5 separate regions of the Homo sapiens genome follow, and all the other regions are linked to region 4. The links are contacts of gene promoters, found by promoter capture Hi-C in human tissues and cell types (Jung and others, 2019). All regions are on one chromosome and are shown on one strand. Each heading gives the region's core, a stretch centred on a gene start or on the middle of the fragment in contact. The rest is flanking DNA. Distances are from core to core; before and after follow the strand shown. Region 1 has its middle 110 kb from the start of GATA6. Region 2 overlaps LOC124904265 (a long non-coding RNA gene). Region 3 overlaps GATA6 (GATA binding protein 6). Region 4 holds the start of CTAGE1 (cutaneous T cell lymphoma-associated antigen 1). Region 5 overlaps GATA6 (GATA binding protein 6).

Region 1 (2,700 bases), core at 67-2,566, 130 kb after region 4:
ATTAGTGACACCCCCATCCACTCAGTTGCCTAATCAAGATACCCGGAAGTCATCCTGGACTTCCCCTTCCCCTCACTTCCCACTCCCAGCAGTCACAAGTCCTGCTGAGTTAACCTATAATTCTTTTCTCCTCCAATGAAAATATATATTCAATCAACAGTATCCCATGGCCTCCAGGCTGGAGGTCAAAGTCTCCATGATCAGCCTTTCTTTCTAGGCTATTTGCCCACCATTCCCAGATTTACACATTCCATTCTGGCAAAGTGAATTCCCCATGGTTGCCCAATGACCCTGCTGTTTCTCACTTCCATGCCTTTCTCATGCCAGGAGCCCTCCCCAACCCAGTCACTACTTTTGGCACATAAGTTCTTTCAGGTGCCCATTATCATTCCATTTTCTAGGCTGGCTTGTGACTGTCATTTATGTGTCTGTTTCCTCCCACTCTTCAGGGACTGTGTCTTGCCTCTGCATAACCAGCACCTGGCTTGGCACATAGCAGATGCTCAAGAAATATTCACCAAGTACATGGAATGAATAGTTGCATATGTAATATGTATATCTGAATAGTTCAGAAGTTAGAGATATAAAACACAACAGACAAAAGAGTAAAAACGAGAAACAAATTTGTTTTTAAAACTTTTGCATTGCTTTGGATCCAGAGCACAGAACCAGTCTTTTGTTCTTCCCACAAATCAGTGGCATAGAGCCAATACATCGGATTGCTTTTGCTTCCTGAATAATCAGAGTAAACATCTATTGCATTGCTTATTAAATGCAGGTGCTAAATGCTACAACAGGGATTGTCTCATCTAATCCACAAAATTACCCTATTAGGTAAGAACTATTGTTACATTTGAGGAAACTGAGGCTTAGTAGAATTAATATGTTATCGGTGGAGCTGGGATTTGGAATCTGATATCTGACTCAAAGTTCATGCTCTTAACCATCATAATTTCCATGGGAGTTAGGGTCAGAAGGTAGCCTATTGGTGAAAACATGTAGAGTTGAAATTAGTTTTGGAAATATCTTTTCATCAGGAATCTGTACCTTTTTGGCAGGAAGTTAGAACACATTAAAATTCATAGGCATATACTCATAGTCTGAGTCTTCCAGGCACAAGTCAAAAGCCATTTCAATCTTTTCTAAAATCTTATACATATTTAACTGGGTGTGGTGTCTCATGCCTGTAATCCCAGCACTTTGGGAGGCCGAGGCGGGCAGATCACCTGAGGTTGGGAGTTTGAGACCAGCCTGACTAACATGGTGGAACCCCGTCTCTACTAAAAATACAAAATTAGCCAGGCGTGGTGTCACATGCCTGTAATCCCAGCTACTTGGGAGGCTGAGGCAGGAGAATCTCTTGAACCTGGGAGGTGGAGGTTGCAGTGAGCTGAGATTGTGCCGTTGCACTCCAGCCTGGGCAACAAGAGCGAAACTCAGTCTCAAAAAAAAAAAAAAAAACTTATACATATCTGATGTATCTCCTTAACAATCTTTTTATTATTACTTTATTTATTGTTCTATAACAATAAATGTATTGGGGTACAGGTGGTATTTGGTTACATGAGTAAGTTCTTCAGTGGTGATTTGTGAGATCCTGGTGCACCTATCACCTGAGCAAATCAGTAAGAAAAAAACAAACGATCCTGTCAAAAAGTGGGTTAAGGACATGAATAGACAACTCTCAAAAGAAGATGTACAAATGGCCAACAAACATATGAAAAAATGCTCAACATCACTAATGATTAGGGAAATGCAAATCGAAACCACAATGTGATACCACCTTACTCCTGCAAGAATGGCCATAATCAAAAAATCAAAAAACAGTAGATGTTGGCATGGATGCGGCGATCAGGGGACACTTCTACACTGCTAGTGGGAAGGTAAACTTAGCAACCATTTTAGTACTTAATGCCACAGCTTCACGATTTTTTTTTCTCTCTCAGATCTTTATGACCCCTGTTAGACTGGGCAAACCCATAACTGTGAACCACGTTGGAAATGGACATCTCCTCTCTCAGGAAGCTCAGCATAGCCAGCTCTTACACTGGAATTGAAACTAATCACCGAGCATTACATGAAGATGATGACTCGCATGTAGGAGCCATGCTGTGTGGGGATCAAAACTGTTAGACTCACACTCAGCACAGTGAGATTACACTGAGAGCCTGTGAGAGAGCCCAATTGTGGGGCCAGCAGATTCCTATACCCCCATCCCATCTTCTTGTGGGAACTTGGACTGAGTCATAGGCCTAATTGCCAGGTCCACTTAAATGGCCCCCTCCTCACCCATGTGTGTGCCTATTTGAGTTCATGTAAGTAAATATACAGACAGAATGATACCATTGATCAGGACCCTCTCATTGCCCTGAAGTTCAGGACATCTGATATAGGCAATAATATTCATTTTCATTTTGACATCTCTCTTAGGGAAATGGCCTGACACATAGTCCTTCCTGACCTCTGACCTAAACCCCTTAATCTATGTCATAAAATGGTCTCTATCTGCCTGATTCTTCTCAGTGGTAGAGAACTGAAGCCTCAACCCCAGTGGCTCAAAAGAGGTACTTGCAATTCCTAAAACTTACATGTGCAGTCTGTATCTCTTTCTTTTGCAATAATAAGATTAAATCAGATGCTTGCAAGGTCCCTGAACCATCAATAGGAATATAGATAGACATAGATAGATACTTAGGTAGA
Region 2 (2,700 bases), core at 165-2,664, 150 kb before region 4:
TGTAGTAATCAGTTCACTGTGTAGTAAATAAAATTAACAAAAAAGGAAAAACAATGATAATATAGATTGCCTTTGATTTTTCCTATGCATGACTTGGAAATTTAGCATATATTTATTGAGTACCTACCACATGTGACCCTGTGCTGATGCTAGGATGCCATGGGAGGTGGTAGAGAATATAAAGGTAAGTAAACCAAAGCTCACAGTTTCAATTTAAAATAGTTCTGTGTAAAATTATTAAATTACTCTTTAATTACTCCAGCAATTCCCAGCAGTCTTTTTTAAACAAATATAGCCTCAAGCCTCTTGCAGAGATGCTTTTACTTCTTACATATTTATATTTATTTTTATTGTGCATTTAAAAAATATTTTTCCCAAGTATCTATTGACGGATGAATGGACAAACAAAACAAAGTGTAATACACACACACACACACACACACACACACACACACAGACAAACACAGGAATATTATTTAGCGTTTAAAATGAAGGAAATTCTGACATGCTGCAACATGGATTAACCTTGAAAATATGCTAAGTGAAACATGCCAGTAACAAAGGGGCAAATAGTGTTTGATTCCACTTATATGAGGCACCTACAGTGGTCAAATTCGTAAAGGCAAAAAGTAGAATAGTAGTTGCCAGGGGCTGAGGGTAGGGGAGAATGAGAAATTATTAGATAGTGGAGACAGAGTTTGTTTGGGAAGATTTTTTAAAGTTCTGGAAATAGATGCTGGGGATAGTTGCTCAATTATGTGAATGTACTTAATGCCACAAAATTGTACACTTAAAACACTTAAAATGGGCCAGGCACAGTGGCTCACGCCTGTAATCCCAGTACTTTGGGAGGCAAAAGTGGGCGGATCATGAGGTCAGGAGTTTGAGACCAGCCTGGCCAATATGGTGAAACCCCGTCTCTACTACAAAATGCAAAAATTAGTTGGGCGCTGTGGCGCGTACCTGTAGTCCCAGCTACTTGGGAGGCTGAGGCAGGAGAATTGCTGGAACCCAGGAGGTGGAAGTTGCAGTGAGTTGAGAGCTCGCCACTGCATCATTCCAGCCTGGGTGACAGAGCGAGACTCTATGGGGAAAAAAAAAAAAGTTAAAATGGTAAATTTTATGTTACTTATTTCTTACAACAAGAAAAATGCTTTTTAACCAAACAGAATATAAACTCTTGTGAACAGGGCTAGGGAACTGATTTTCTCCTAATCACTAAGAAAATTCCACCTGAGAGGCAAGGGCCTAGGAGTTGGAGAGCTGGGCTCCTGTTTGGTGCCAGCTCTGTGGTTAGCTAGCTATGTGAACTCCACTCAACCTTGCCAAGCCTCAGTTTCTTCATCTTTCAAATGAGTAAGAGTGGGGAGGGGCACCGCATATCTCAGTGCTCTGATTTCCATTTAACCACAGATTTAGAACCAAGGTGGCTTGGCTTCAAATATTCAACTCCTCTGCTGGCAAATAAACAGATCTTCGGGAAACTGTACTTGTCTTCCAGAGAAAAGGTTTATTTCAGTAGGTTCTCACAGAGCAAATCTAAGCACCAACAATGTAGAGTTTTGAGAATGCAGAGTATTTCCTGAACACATAATCCTTCCCTCCTTGAAACTGTCTATGATGTAGGAATTCAGTTCCCATCCAGATTTACAGATGTAAATCTTCAGTTACCTAATAAAATGGAGAGAAGAAAATCATGTGATTATATTTTGAATCTAGTAATACTAATGAATTCAAAGCCAGACTTCATTTTAGAGGGCTTTTGTAAAAAGTTCTATTTTCCAATCTAATGCTTGGTGTTGAGTCTTGAAAATTTAAGGTAATGCAAACCCTATCATTTCCACCTCTAAAAATTCTATCAGAGTCTCTAAGAATCTATGTTTAGGCTCCTTACACAGCGGCAAACATGGAAACAATATTTATCGTCCACAACTTTCCTAGGTAGATCAAATTGTTCAACACAGAACTGGCATTCTACTGGCAAGTGCCTGGTTACCAGCTAAATAGTTGGGTACACCCAGTAGACCTGCAGATAGAGAAAGCTTTCAAGACCAGTCTGGATACAAACAATATCTGGGAATCAATTGCCTAGGACTATCTCAATGGTAGGAGAAGTCTGCCTCAAGGAAATGTGTATTGTTCTTGAAAATGCCAGACACCAGTAGGAAACACAAACACAGACTCAAAAGAAGCAGGGAATGGCAGACTGAATAAACAGCACGTGCGCACCCATTTTCCTAGGAAATATGTGTCCAAGACTGAAGAGTTGTGGTGCAGTCTTATCTGTCATTTACGTCTTAAAGATAGGTGAGTCTTGGATAATATCGTGCTTGTGCCCCACAGGAGGCTGCCAACTATTATCATAGATCATCCACTAGAGGGTGACAACCACATATGCTTAGGGATGGATGACTGTAGACACAGTGCACATTCCACAGTCCTGAGAAGAGTTTCTTGAAGCTCATCCGCCTAAGTGGTTGGACTTTCACTTTGGAGTCGCCCATAAAAAGGAGAGAGGGAAACTATACATCTTTTCCATACTTATGGCCTAGGTTGTCTCTCCTTTTCAGACTTAGTTAAGAAAAAATTAAATATATATACGAATTTTTTGTAAGTAGAAGGAACACCTCCTATCACATTAAATAGGAGGTGAGTATCTCTAACAGTTGGGAGAAGGACATGCTGAGATTTTTTCCTATT
Region 3 (2,700 bases), core at 105-2,604, 240 kb after region 4:
ATTTTCTCTATTACAGCGGTAAATACTCTCTCCGGCTAGGAAGCACACATAACAATGACAATACGAGATTAATCCCTGAAATCAGGATTCCCTTACTTTAAAACATGGTGGCCGGGCGCGGTGGCTCACGCCTGTAATCCTAGCACTTCGGGAGGCCGAGGCGGGCGGGATCACATGAGATCGGGAGTTCGAGACCAGCCTGACCTACATGGAGAAACCCTGTCTCTACTAAAAATACAAAAAAATGAGCCGGGCGTGGTGGCACATGCCTGTAATCCCAGCTACTCGGGAGGCTGAGGCAGGAGAATCGCTTGAACCCTGGAGGCGGAGGCTGCGGTGAGCCGAGATCGCGCCATTGCACTCCAGCCTGGGCAACAAGAGTGAAACTCCGTCTCAAAAAAAAAAAAAAAAAAAAAAAAAACAAAAAAACAGTAAAACGTGTGCGAATTGGGGAAAATGCTCAACTTAAGAACATACAAACCACACTTTTACTCAAGTTCTACAAAGTTCTCTGATTTTGAAATAACAAAAGTTAGAGCAAATAAATTTTCACCAGGCTCAAGGGCAATCCAAGATATGGTATTTGGGGATACACCTGAGGATAAGAGGTAGAAGTGACCAAGAAGGTGGAAAGGACAAAGTAAACGGCACCCAAAAGAATGTGGCTGTGAGGAGGCGTGAGTGGGTGGATTTCTGGCATATTCTATTTGGGGGACGAATGGTATAAGTGAGCATGGTTTTTCAAGCATAAAATCTAAACCATACACAGTGAAAAAAGTCTTCCTTCGCCCGGCCTCGGTAGGTCTACTGTTTTTCTCCTCGGGTTACCATCACCAATTTCTTGCCTATCTTACCAGAATTATTACGGTGCTTTGGCAAGTACACCTAGAGATATATAGATTATTTTTTCTTTTTTTGCTTAAAACATGGTAACATTTTGCACCTTCCTTTTTTGTTTGTTTTTGTTTTTGTCATTTACGGACGTCATCCCCTGCGCGTAAACATGGGGAAAGGCTATCTTGGCTTCCCAGAGGCCAGTTTCGGGGTAACTTCTACTTGGGCGCCAGCGGGTGGGCGTTGGAACAGCCGGGACAGGATGGTACCGCTGGGTCCCCGCTAGGGTGGGACCGCAGCGGCCGCACCTGTCCCCTGGGAGGGGGACGCCCAAGGCAGGCCGAGCCAGGGCGGGGCCGGCCGGGCCAGGAGAGCCCGGGGCCGGCCGCGAGCCAGGGGCAGGGCGGGTCACACTCACCACGCGCTTCTGCGGCTTGATGAGGGGCCGGCTGAGGCCGTTCATCTTGCTGTAGAGCCCGCAGGCGTTGCACAGGTAGTGGCCGGTGCCGTCCCGCCGCCACAGCGGCGTCTGGATGGAGCCGCAGTTCACGCACTCGCGGCTCTCGGACAGGTCCTCCAGCAGGTCTGCGGCGACAGCGGTGCGTGAGGGCGGGAGTGGGCGCGCCGGACCCGTCCCTCCCCGCGTCACCCCGGGGACCCCGGCCCCCAGCCCCGGTGCCCGGCTTCCCTGCCCGTGCCCTTCCCGGCTGAGCTTTTCTCCTTGGCCGCAAAGCCAGGAGCAGGGTTATTTCGTCACTATTGCTCCACTGACCATTTGTCCAATACTTCTGCACACCCGGAGCGCCCCAGTAGAGACTCCGGGAAAGAGACAGTGCTGGAAGCAGAGGACGTCAGAGTCCGAGATGAGCGGTGGGGAGGTCGGCTTGAGTCCCCTGACCCCTACTCTCAGGCTGTCCCGGAGCTTTTAAAGACTGAAATCCATCATCATTACAGTACGTCGTTGCCAAACCCGAGCAAGCCACACAGAAATACTGACCACTGAGCCCCGCTGCAACCCACAAATATCCGGGGACACAGCGAGGCTGCCTCATTAACTTTTATCTCAAGTAATTTTAAAAAGTATTTTCTACATCTGCCACCCGTCCATATGTGCCTCTTCTCCAATTAAAGATACACAAGTGAAATTAAAAGTACTATTCTTAGGCACCTACGTTAGTTAGAAACTAGAAATGAGAAGATTACTCTCATCTTTTCAGGGGAAAAATGCACTAACGTTAAGCACAGAGTTTTATTTTCATGCCACAAAGATCAAATGCTAAAATCCCGATTTAGAAGTGGGTCCAACTGCTTCTATCTGCAAAATTTTTATAAAAGGTTGATACCTTACTGATTGAGAAAATTACCAAGACCTTCCCAGTGATCATTTTGAGTTAGCAATCGATTTAAAATGTGTTTATTTTACATAATTTTATTATTATTATTCTTTGGTTAGTTTTCAGAATTCACAATAACCTAAACCTGCTAATAAAAACAAATCCTAATTAAGAGTAAATGTAACATTTATTACTTCTCAAGAAGGTTAAATATGGAAGAATAAATGTCTCTAAAAATGAGAAAGGTACTTATTGTAAGTATAGACCAAAAAAAAGTATAGACCGCCATTTAAGGTTCTTTAGATTATAGAAGGTTTAAATGTCCTAGTTCTGCATTATTGAAGAAGCATTCCTGAATCACTTTTTAAAGTAAATAAACATTACACTTCAGAGTTTTAGCTTAAGATTATGTGCTGGTGAACCTTTTGGTTCTTTCTCATCCCCTTGCAGTTTATTGCTTGTGTCTACTATCAACTGTGTGGTAACGATATTTAAATATGACTTTAGCATAAAAACTTTAATTCCATTAATA
Region 4 (2,700 bases), core at 165-2,664:
CAAAGGGAGCTGGTGCTTGTGCAAGTTGTTGAGGTGTGCTCTGTGGAATGATGGCTGTCACAGACACTGTCAAGCAGGAGGTTGCCCTGGCTGTGCACATGCTGCAAAGCATGCATGTGAACGTGATTCTGATCACGGGGGACAACTGGAAGACAGTCAGAGCCTTTGCCACCCAGGTTGGCATCAACAAAGTCTTTGCAGAGGTGTTGCCTTCACACAAGGTGACCAAGGTTCAGGAGCTCCTGAATGAAGGGAAGAAAGTCGCCATGGTGGGGGACGGGGTCAATGATTCCCTGGCCTTGGCCCAGGCAGACTTGGGCATTGCCACTGGCACTGGCACGGATGTGGTCATCGAGGCAGCCAACGTCATCCTCATCAAAAATGATTTGCTGGATGTGGTGGCTAGCATTCATATTTCCAAGATGACTGTCCAGAGGATATGCATCAAACTGGTCCTGGCGCTGATTTATAACCTAGTGGGCATACCCATTGCTGCAGGAGCAAGCTTTCCAGATGAGTTGAAGATATGTGCATGGGCGGGAGATGATGACTTATTGCAGGGCAAGGCGTCATCCGTGTTGAAGGAGTGCCAGTGTTTCAGAAATGGACACAGAGCAGGTAAGTTTGATGGACAGGTAAGAGAATCACTCTCTATGTGCCAGCACTGTTCTAAGAGTCCTGGATCTTCTGGGGATGAGATTAGCGTTTTTCAGTTGTACATGGGACAGCTGAGGCTCATGCTAGGGAGTGGTGAGCCCTTTCCTGGAAGAAGTTAATCTAAAAAGCATAATCTGTCTCATTTGGGAGGAGCTAAATAAATATCTCTTCAATGAAGCAAAGGTCAATCAGAAAATTTGTATTTTAGCTATAAAATTACCTATCAGAATTTACCATAGGGCATAATCTTAGTCAAGCACCCAAATTCATTATTTCAGCCACAGATACTGAAACACCAAAGGGATAAGGGGGCAGGTATTTCAGTTAGCTACTGCTGCATAACAAATGACCCCAAAGCTTAGTGACTTAAAACAATGATTTGTTATTCCTTATCATTCTGTCAGCTGGGAGGTTCTTCTGCCCGCCCCACCTGGGGTCATGCACAAGGCTACATTTAGCTAGGGTGTCAGCTTGGGATGGGCATAGCTGGGATGCTGGGTCACCTGAGTCTTTCTCACCATGTGGTACTGTTTTAAAATATAGGTTTTAGCGCTTCCTCAGGATGTAAAGTGTAACAAAGGTACCGGGGTGGGCAGTGTGGGTCTGTGAGGCCTACGGGTGCCCGCGTCCCCTAACTCCCCCCGCAGCCGGCTCCGCAGTGGTACGCTCCGGTTGCCCGTTAGGGATTCAGGTTCCAAACGGAATGCTGCGTCTTCTCCAGCGTTTGTTGTGGCCGAGGTTACTGCAGCAACCGCCAGAGCAGCCTTGGCGCTACGGAGGAGCCTAGGGCTAACCCTCAGCCATACCTGGGGCTGGTCCTGGAGTTGCTACGCAGGGTTGTGGCAGCACTGACTGAAGGTATGAGACCCGATTCTCATCCTTATGGTTTTCCATGGGAATTGGTGATACGTGCAGCTGTTGCTGGATTTTTTGCTGTTCTCTTCTTGTGGAGAAGTTTTAGATCAGTTACGAGTCGGCTTTATGTGAGAAGAGAGAAAAAGTTTGCTGTGGCACTTTCTGGACTAATTGAAGAAAAATGTAAACTACTTGAAAAATTTAGCCTTGTTCAAAAAGAGTATGAAGGCTATGAAGTAGAGTCATCTTTAAAGAATGCCAGCTTTGAGAAGGAGGCAACAGAAGCACAAAGTTTGGAGGCAACCTGCGAAAAGCTGAACAGGTTCAATTCTGAACTTGTGCATGAAATACTCTGTCTAGAAAAAGAGTTAAAAGAAGAGAAATCTAAACATTCTGAACAAAATGAATTGATGGCGGATATTTCCAAAAGGATACAGTCGCTAGAAGATGAGTCAAAATCCCTCAAATCACAAGTAGCTGAAGCCAAAATGACCTTCAAGAGATTTCAAGCGAATGAAGAACGGTTGGAGATAGAAATACAAGATGCTTGGAAAGAAAATTCTGAACTTCAGGAAAGCCAGAAACAGCTTTTGCAAGAAGCTGAAGTATGGAAAGAACAAGTGAGTGAACTTATTAAACAGAAAAGAACATTTGAAGACTCCAAAGTACATGCAGAACAAGTTCTAAATGATAAAGAAAATCACATCAAGACTCTGACTGAACGCTTGCTAAAGATGAAAGATGGGGTTGCTATGCTTGAAGAAGATGTAACGGATGATGATAACTTGGAATTAGAAATGAACAGTGAATCGGAAGATGGTGCTTACTTAGATAATCCTCCAAAAGGAGCTTTGAAGAAACTGATTCATGCTGCTAAGTTAAATGCTTCCTTAAAAACCTTAGAAGGAGAAAGAAACCAAATTTATATTCAATTATCTGAAGTTGATAAAACAAAGGAAGAGCTTACAGAGCATATTAAAAATCTTCAGACTGAACAAGCATCTTTGCAGTCAGAAAACACACATTTTGAAAGTGAGAATCAGAAGCTTCAGCAGAAACTTAAAGTAATGACTGAATTATATCAAGAAAATGAAATGAAACTCTACAGGAAATTAATAGTAGAGGAAAAATGCCGGTTAGAGAAAGAAGAGAAACTTTCTAAAGTAGACGAAATGATCAGCCATGCCA
Region 5 (2,700 bases), core at 158-2,657, 220 kb after region 4:
TGCCTGCCACCTTTCTCCCCACTACACTGCTCCAACCTGAACTCACCCTGGAATCTGGCACAGCATTGAAGACTCGCTGGGTTGCCCTCCCAGCAAAGCAGCCAATTTATCTGTGATCTGAAATTACATCAAATTTCCAAGGACTGTGAAAAACATTTCCCATGAGCAAGAAGTTAATTTATTTGCACTGGGAAATGAATGGTTCCCTTTGCTTTCCTGACCCTCCCATAAGCACCAGGAAACAACATTAAGTGACCCTGAAAAGAGACCCCAGACAGAGCCTTCACTTATTTAAGATGGCCTCAAATCAGCCATGTGTGACAGAAGACATAAATTCTCCAGTCCACGATATACGGTCTGGGGATTCTTTAAGCTGAGGTGCAGCATCTATTTGAATGCATTCCCTTTTGAGAAATGATTGGGTCATGTTCAGTTGCACATGTCATACTTTGGGAGAGGAGTGCTGAAATTGTGTATTTGGAGCAAATTTAACAAACTTCTTTATGCAATCATAGGTAAGAAAGTAATCATTTAAAAACAGATAGTGGAGTTCATTGTGTTAGGACAGGCTACAAGAAGCCCCCTCTGTCTTCTGCCCACTGTAATTTGTTTCATAAAAACTAGAATTCTTTTTAGAATTGGAAGGAGCAATATTTGAGATTATCCCAGAAAAAGGGTCATTTGGAAGCCCCAAAAAGAAAAATTCATTTTCCAATCAAACCATATTAACTTTAACAACTCCCAACCCACCAAAAAGCACTCAAAGTAATGAGAACCATAAAAGGAGGGAGGAAAACAGACATCAGTTCGTGGGGATAATAATTTTCTTCTGTTGTCAGAACAGCCTTGTTCTATTATAAAACAATCAGCTCTCATGCATCCTCCCTCCATTTCTGCAACCCCCTGGATTAGAGGGAGTCTTTCATTTCACTCTTCTTGGCCTTGTTGAAGAAGCACAGGTGACCCACAGGACATCACTCTTACAGACCATAAACTTCTGATATTCCAGGTAGTCAGACATTATTCAAAGGATCTATGTTGCAAATCATGCCACTCTCTTTCAAAGTCAAGTTAGTACTTAATATGTGCCAGGTATTGTGCTAAGCACTTGGCATGGACTATCTCACTTAATCCTGTGATTTATATACTATTTGCCTTTATTTTATATTAGAAAGATGAGAGCTGGATAACTTGCCCAAGGTCACAGAGCTTATCCACGGCCAAGCAGGGAATTGAAGCCTAGTGATCTGCCTGCATACCCAACACTCTTAACCATTGTTCTGGCCCACCTTATGATATCAGGGTGCACGTGGGCCTTACTGAATTACCCAGAAACACACACACACACACACACTGGCTATGGACACTGTCCCTCTATAGAGTAGCATTCACCAGGACTAAGGAAGACATTCCTTCTCTTGAAAGATTCAGACTGAACCCCATAGAATGACTGTAATAAGTGCATGAAAAGAAGTAAAAAAATACTGTACACTCAGGGAGCCACAGTTAAAGGCCATCATTCTGTATTGTGAAACACCTCCTGATTTCCTGAAATCTACTCAACAATGAAGAAAATACAAAGAGGCCACTGGAATCATTTCTACCTATCTTCTGTTGGGGGTAACGTCTGCAACCTCAGGTGAGCTTTGAGACTTCAAGGCACGTTGCAAAAGGAAAAAACTGAAAGGAAATCGCCCTGTTCGTGGGCCAGAATATATTTCATTCACAAAGAAAAAAAATCTGAACTTTCTGGAATATTTTTAAGCATTGTTCCCAAACAAAATGCTTATCATCTCAAATATAATAATACTGAGTCCTTCCCACTTATAAAAACTGTCCCCAATGCACATGGAGAGTAGTAACTAACCCCATGTGTCAACTTCAAATAAGCCAAGGTATAAAAGGTACAAAACGGCTCCAAAAGGACTATGCTTTGAAAGGAAGGCCTTAAAGCATTTTGCAAACTTCACGTGCACTTGTTTTATATGAATATCTATAGTCACATACAGCATAAAAAGAAAGCTTTGAAAAGGGAAGGAACTCACTGTACAGAAGACAAAACAATACCCTTTTTATTTTTAAAACTCTGGTGAAATAGGTTTCCATAGGACATCCCATTCAAAAAAAAAAATTAATGTAAACCAACCTGCCTGTGGGTTAGTCACACTATACAGACTTCATCAGAGTGTTTACAGATACCTAGAGTATTTACAAATGCTATCCGTTAGGTAGTAAAGTGTTGTTGCAATTTTTCCAGCACATATTCCACAGTAAAATAAAGGGGGTATATTGGTGTTCTTGTATAAAAATTCTTAACAAATAGAGAAAGGCAATTTTCCTGAGAGAAGATTTGTTCTTGAAATATTTTTCTTTAACAATTGGAAATATAAAATGGGATGTAGTTGTAAAAGAAGCATAAGAATGTCTAAGTTAACATTTTTCTTTTAAATTATTTTAAGTACCATTAAGTTAAAATGTTTACATTCATTATAAAAAATGCTGTTAAATCTTATGCAAATGATTTAACACTGATTGCTGCAACGCAAATTGCACTTTTTAAAAAAATTATTGTATACATGGAAGAAAAATATCTTGTTTGCTACCCTGTTTACAAATTCCGACTGACTTCAGATCAGCCACACAATATGAACTTTGAGAAACGTCAGTCACAGTGTATGTTAAAGTTACAATGCAGTCTTG

Evidence for each region. Contacts are between HindIII fragments. The study calls those that stand out against the background at their distance.
Region 1: a fragment that was not itself captured here is called in contact with the fragment with the promoter of CTAGE1 in region 4 in 2 of the 25 tissues and cell types used here (heart left ventricle and heart right ventricle).
Region 2: a contact is called between a fragment that was not itself captured here and the fragment with the promoter of CTAGE1 in region 4, in 1 of the 25 tissues and cell types used here (heart left ventricle).
Region 3: a fragment that was not itself captured here is called in contact with the fragment with the promoter of CTAGE1 in region 4 in 4 of the 25 tissues and cell types used here (H1 embryonic stem cells, IMR-90 fibroblasts, aorta and 1 more).
Region 5: a fragment that was not itself captured here is called in contact with the fragment with the promoter of CTAGE1 in region 4 in 6 of the 25 tissues and cell types used here (aorta, bladder, heart right ventricle and 3 more).

What each region holds. Positions count from the first base shown.
Region 1 is chr18:22,283,044-22,285,743 of GRCh38, reverse strand. No RefSeq gene overlaps it. Among named protein-coding and RNA genes, the nearest start is that of GATA6, 110 kb to the right of the region's middle. The HindIII fragment of the contact is 6,589 bases long and covers 1-2,700 here.
Region 2 is chr18:22,562,987-22,565,686 of GRCh38, reverse strand. All of the region lies in intron 2 of LOC124904265 (a long non-coding RNA gene), which reads right to left. Among named protein-coding and RNA genes, the nearest start is that of CTAGE1, 150 kb to the right of the region's middle. The HindIII fragment of the contact is 4,164 bases long and covers 1-2,700 here.
Region 3 is chr18:22,175,674-22,178,373 of GRCh38, reverse strand. GATA6 (GATA binding protein 6) reads right to left here. Exons shown (of 7, transcript NM_005257.6): 3 at 1,253-1,419. Among named protein-coding and RNA genes, the nearest start is that of GATA6, 7.4 kb to the right of the region's middle. RefSeq lists an enhancer at 1-72. The HindIII fragment of the contact is 4,632 bases long and covers 1-2,700 here.
Region 4 is chr18:22,416,629-22,419,328 of GRCh38, reverse strand. It overlaps CTAGE1 (cutaneous T cell lymphoma-associated antigen 1), which reads left to right and starts at 1,414. Exons shown (of 1, transcript NM_172241.3): 1 at 1,414-2,700. The coding sequence starts at 1,518. It also overlaps the pseudogene ATP7BP1. The HindIII fragment of the contact is 3,989 bases long and covers 761-2,700 here.
Region 5 is chr18:22,201,330-22,204,029 of GRCh38, reverse strand. GATA6 (GATA binding protein 6) reads right to left here. Exons shown (of 7, transcript NM_005257.6): 7 at 1,502-2,700. Among named protein-coding and RNA genes, the nearest start is that of GATA6, 33 kb to the right of the region's middle. The HindIII fragment of the contact is 7,031 bases long and covers 1-2,700 here.